Linked DNA regions of Homo sapiens: region 2 is linked to region 1. The links are contacts of gene promoters, found by promoter capture Hi-C in blood cells and fetal thymus (Javierre and others, 2016). All regions are on one chromosome and are shown on one strand. Each heading gives the region's core, a stretch centred on a gene start or on the middle of the fragment in contact. The rest is flanking DNA. Distances are from core to core; before and after follow the strand shown. Region 1 holds the start of CPA4 (carboxypeptidase A4). Region 2 overlaps LOC105375508 (a long non-coding RNA gene).

Region 1 (2,770 bases), core at 271-2,770:
TCTCTCTGGGACCACACTTGAGATTCTGCACCCTCCTTTTGATTAGGCTGGTTCTTGAGCCCTGGCTAAGCCAGCCTGAGCAAAGATCCTGCGAAGTCATCCCTCCCACCTTGATATCTGATCAAGTTCCTCATCCCCACCTTTGATGGGGACTTTGATGTATAAGTCCTTGGCCTGCTTTTAGCAAGAATCCCCCTACCTTGATGTCTTCTCTTAGTAATCCCACTGATCCTCTCTGTTTTCTTTGCCGTATTCAGTGTTAAGCACAGTAAGTCTTTCCTACTGAAATAGCCATGGTCCTAATCATAATAATCTTGAATTAGGTCTTACATTTTAACACAGGTCAGGATAGTTTTTCTTTAACTCTCTCAACTATGACCCTTGGTTGTGTCCACTCCCTTTGAGTGGGTGTGGAAAGCATGTAGACCGTAGGGAGGGTGGGATGGGAAAGGCTGTGGGAACTGGGGCTCCCAGGACAGACTCAAAGGTCCCAGAGCCCCTGAAGGCGTTATGGAGATATGAGTGTCTTCCATTTATTCAGCTGTGACTTGGCGGAAAGGACACCAGACCCACAGTCTAGGAAGTATAAGAAAATCTTATTATTTATTTATTTATTTATTTGAGATGGAGTCTCACTCTGTCGCCCAGGCTGGAGTGCAGTGGTGCGATCTCGGCTCACTGCAAGCTCCGCCTCCCAGGTTCACGCCATTCTCCTGAGTAGCTGGGACTACAGGCGTCCGCCACCACGCCCGGCTAATTTTTTGTATTTTTAGTAGAGACGAGGTTTCACTGTGATAGCCAGGATGGTCTCAATCTCCTGACCTCGTGATCCGCCCACCTCGGCCTCCCAAAGTGCTAGGATTACAGGCATGAGCCACCTCGCCCGGCTGAAAATCTTATTATTGATAAAACCATTAAGCCTTCCCCATAGATCAGACCCCAAGGAACACTGATAATTTATTCAGACTAAAACATCCTTTCTATATCATTTGCCTGATACATTTCTATTTCCTTAGTGGAGTCAGAAGAATTAGGCTTCAGATACATAAAAGAGGCCCCAAACCTCTTTCCTCATCCTGACCTGCCCTGGTGAAATTCTCTGGCAGGGCTTGTCAAGCATGTGGTCTTGGAGCCAGCTCAGTCTTGCTTTGATAGTCTTAACTTTTTTATTATTATTCTAGAGGTAATTCTATGCCAGGTTTATAATCTGACCTCTCCTATCAGGATAAATTCCATCCAACACTGTGGAATTAGCTTATTCACTGAAAAAACACTATTTAAATGCCAAGTGATGAGCAATATGGTACCCTTGGCACAGACTTTTTCAGCTCCTGGAGCAAGTTCCTGACCTTGTAAATTGAGATGCTCAACCTTTATCACTTGAAAGGAATGGGAGAGGCATTGGTAGGGCCTGCCTGTCACAGTCAGAGTTGCAAGGGTGCTTGGGAATCACATTAGCATTTTTGAGGACTTGAGTCACTCTCAGACTCTTTATAAATACAGCTTGACTCAGCCACTGTATGACTGACTCCCCGGGGACATGAGGTGGATACTGTTCATTGGGGCCCTTATTGGGTCCAGCATCTGTGGCCAAGAAAAATTTTTTGGGTAAGTTCCTTTTGGACTTATTATTTGGTTATTTCAGAAATATGGGAGCCAAATGGAACTGAAAATGAATGGCTGATAATAGCTCACATGGAGGAAGAAGACCTGGGCTCTTGTTCCAGCTTTGCCCCTGTGTCATCCTGGACAAGTCCACTCTCTTCTCTGAGACCCCATTTCATCTGTGAAATCAGGACTAGATGATCATTGCAGTCTCTCCCCAGCTCCCTCATCTCCTGCCAGTTCTTTTTCTGCCTAGTTCTTACTTATAAGGTCAGTTCCAGGCATCTACTTTCTTACTCCTACCTTATTAATTACTAAGAGTTACTGGTTACTAAGAGCTACGTTATTAATTACTAAGAGTTACTGGTTACCAGAAATGGTTTGTTTCCAATTTCCGCCATGCATAAAGGGAAACCCTGGGTCTCAAGCTTGTTGGTTTCACTTCTTTGTTAATGGCGAAGGCTTTGCAGAGCTGGTGCCTTCTCTTGATCTGCAGTTTAATGCTCTACCCCTGAGCTACACCCTCTTCTGAGCTGGTGCTTTCTTACTGGCTTCTGGGACGTGGAGATTTCACAGGTCTTGCCTAGACACAGCTATGAAAATGACATGCAGAGACACATGCCTGAACACCGTGTGTGTGTGCGCGTGTGTGTGTGCACACACACACGTGCTCAACACGCTCCATGCAGAATACTTTGAGGTTTGCAGGGGAGAGGACATTTGGGTGGTAGGAGAGATAAAAGGGATACCATGGTGCCCTGTTAGAAGACTGAATTATAATAACTCATTACTGCATAATACTTTACCATTTGCAAAGAGCTTTCATGTACATTATCTTTTTGATCACACAACAACTTTGCCAGGCAGGGGTGTTATTTTCTTCCACTTAAACATGAAAAAAATCAGCCTTAGAATGTTAAGGAACGCGCTCAAGGCCACTTAGCTGGGAAGCAGGGGAGCTGGAACTCTGAACGTAAAACTCGTACCCTTTTGCTATAACACAAGTTCATCTCCAAATAAAATCCTATATCTCTTGGATCTGTCTCTTAGTTTTCTTTCTATTTTACTATCTGGCTAATGAGACTTTGGGGTTGTTTTTTGAGGTAATTACTTATATGAGATTGACTAAGTTTTATGATGATGACTTCTGTTCACACCTGTGTCT
Region 2 (3,129 bases), core at 371-2,870, 560 kb after region 1:
TTGCTTTTTAGTTTTTATATGTTAAGACTGTATCACAATGTTTTTATCCATCACCCTATTGATGGACGTCTAGACTATGTCTAGGGCTTCACTGCTACAAGATGGTGCTACAGTAAACATTCTTGTGCATAGCCCTTGTGCACATGTGCAAGGATTTCTGGAGCAGAAGGTATGTTTACTAGATGTGGAAACACTGTCCTCTGAAGTAGTTGCCCAGTCCACCCACTTCACAAGCAGTATGTGAGAGATCTTATTTCCCCACAACCTTGGCAATACTTGGTCTCATCAGACTTGGTTTTTGCCCATCTAAAGGTTATAATTCCATTGATTTTATACATAGTTGTCCCTCACTGTGAGATCCAGTAACTATTCATAATTACCTATACGCTTATAATTTCTTTTTTTCCCCCATTTAACTCCAGTATTTGTCTGTCTCTAGTTGATTGTAATGAATGCAAGAGGCTGTTGTGGAGTGTCAATGCCAGACCCCAAATAAGGGCAACACGGCTACTTAGCTTCTTTCTGAATTTAAAAGAAATGTATAGCTTTAATTTGGGAATTTAGAAACAGAAGCTAAGGTGTCTGTAAGCCTGTATTAGTTATTGTAGCCTTTACCTGCAAGCATCAAAGAACCATAGCAGCAGTGACTTAAACAATTGTGATGGGCATTTATTTCAAGCAATAAGAAGTCTGAAGCTAGTAAAGGAGGCAGTGGTGCCATCCTGGACCCAGGCTCCTGCCATTCTTCTCTGCCACCCTTAGCTGTAGGCTGTAATTCTCACGCTCCTCATCTCACGGTTGCAAGATGGCTGCCGCAGCTCTAGGCTTCACATCAGCGCTCAAGGCGGAAGGAGCAGTGCTTGAGTAGAAACACAAGAGCTTTCACATAAATACCTAGAAGCCTTTTGTCAGCATCACTAACCAGACCTGTGTCACAGGCCACTCAGTGTGTTAGGCAAGTATTTAATGGGATATATTTTCCGTCGTCCTCTGAACAAAATTGTATTCTGTTAGGATGGGAAAAGGGAAGAAGGGAATTATCTGCAACAAGAGTTATTTGGAATGTGGATTTTAGAGACATAATTTTTTCATAGTAGCATCAAATTGGGTGAATACTGGGAAATTATTCAGAGATATATACCATCCAGAACAAGAACCACCACCACAGAACACACAGTCGCCACATTCCATTGATTTATAGGCTGCTGTTTTGTTATTTTCCACTATCTATTAGGTATCTAAATTTCACTTCTCTTTGTTCCTTTTTGCCAATTCAAAAGAATTTAAAATGTTAGAATGAACAAATACTAATGAGGCGCATGTTACCTAAGGATGAGTTTTCAGGCATTCCTTGTGCCACAAATATGAAGAAAACGGAATCATTATAGGCTCTAGGGTGCGGTAGAGAAGCACATGGGACTAAAACAACTTGGATTTGTCATTTACTGTTTTGTTTGTAGGACAAGTCTCTTTTAGTGTCTCATATTATTGACATAACTCATGAATGCTTTTTTCCAGAGTTGATCACACTTAACAATATGTGCAGGCAGGACCGAAAAAAGGTGTGGTGCCTTCCAGCCCATAAATCAAAGGTGAGTCATGAGAATGCTGTCCATTAAACAGGAAGGAGGAGATTTGGATATGGAAGTAGGACATGCATTAGATTCCACAGCAATTAGGCTTTTCCATAAAAGAAGCATCTGCTTTTGGAACTTGAAAATAGAATAAAAGAGGAGCATTTAAAGGAGTTCTTGAAGAAGGCACACCAAGGTACTCGACTAATTGTAATTAGCTAATGAATACCTCCTGTAATAAAGCCTGAACTGTGGAAGGGAATCATTGATCGGCTTCCCAGGAACACCCTGTCACTGTACTGTACCTGCAGTGTATCAGCATTCGGACACAGACAGTGGGTGTGCAGATGTGTGTCTGTGTCATTTGGTTTTATTCATTTATTGCAGTTTCCATTTTATATATTATTCTAGTATAGGTCAGAGAAGCAAAGAGTCATCTACTCTCAGGGGCTTGTTTAACATTTTACATACCCAGTGGAAGGATTTCCCTTCTAACTTTGCTAGATTCTAAGCCTGAAATTAGAGGGAAAAAAAACTTGAACTATCTATTTAAATTCCATATCCAAGTCTGATCTATTCCACAGGAGTTCTTATCCTGAAGGAGCATGGCAGCAAATCAAGGAACAAAACTTAAAGCTGACTGTCCCTTTTTTTCCCACTGCTCTCTACCTTGTAGGGTGACAGAGAAACTTTGATGGGATGTTCAACTTCAGTAATTTTGACTCCTTTTATTTTTATTAGGAAATAATATTTTCCTTACAATATATAACAAGTATTTTCTCCATTGTGATTTTCCTTATGTCTGAGGACCCAGAGATCCTTGGAAGTCAGGCAGAGATGAGTTCAAATCCTGACTCTGCCACTTAGTAGTTGTGCAACCCTGACTGTATTACTCAGCCTCGGCAAATCTCCATATCTTAACCTGAAAAATGGGGATAATAATATATGTGTTTTGCAGAGTTTGTTGTGAAGATTGAGTGAGATTAGGTAAAGTGCTTAGCACCATGCCTGGAATTACTGAGTGCTTAAATGCAAACTGCAGATTAGTAGGATTTCATCTGTGACTTAACTTCATGTACTTCTTTAGGAAAGCATGTATTTTGTCACATGGGGCAAGTACTTGATTATTAACAAGAATGGTCTTCCTCAACTTCGTGGAAGCAGTGCACACCTCAACACTGTGCATTGCCTCCACGTTTGTGTACATGTACTTAGGAAAGGGAGCTAGACATTCTCACCTTCATTGAGTTGCTGTGAGGGTAAAATGAGAGTTTGCATTTCATACCTGACACACGGGGGACTCAGCAGATGTTAGCTCCCTTCCACTATGTCCCCCACTTTCTGAATCAGTCTGTACTTCCATAAATGTATCTTTTCTCTTAGAAGGGCCATCGAGAGGTGGAGGCAGAGAAATGATTCTGGGGCCAGGGGTCTTCCTCCAGGGCCCTTGTAGTCAGATTCTTTCCTTGTCTTGGACGATCACTCAGATATTTGGATTAACACAGCTAAGAGATACAGTGGCTCTCTCCATTTCACAGATTAGCAGGACCAGAAA

What was found. The method cuts DNA at HindIII sites, captures the fragments that hold promoters and counts their contacts. A CHiCAGO score of 5 or more calls a contact.
Region 2: a fragment that was not itself captured here is called in contact with the fragment with the promoter of CPA4 in region 1 in 1 of 17 cell types (erythroblasts); the score reaches 5.5 in erythroblasts.

The regions. Positions count from the first base shown.
Region 1 is chr7:130,291,641-130,294,410 of GRCh38, forward strand. CPA4 (carboxypeptidase A4) reads left to right here and starts at 1,521. Exons shown (of 11, transcript NM_016352.4): 1 at 1,521-1,608. The coding sequence starts at 1,541. RefSeq lists an enhancer at 1,926-2,015. The HindIII fragment of the contact is 9,413 bases long and covers 1-2,031 here.
Region 2 is chr7:130,852,205-130,855,333 of GRCh38, forward strand. It overlaps LOC105375508 (a long non-coding RNA gene), which reads left to right. Exons shown (of 4, transcript XR_927978.3): 4 at 1,519-1,747. Among named protein-coding and RNA genes, the nearest start is that of MIR29A, 23 kb to the right of the region's middle. RefSeq lists an enhancer at 817-2,016. The HindIII fragment of the contact is 6,604 bases long and covers 1-3,129 here.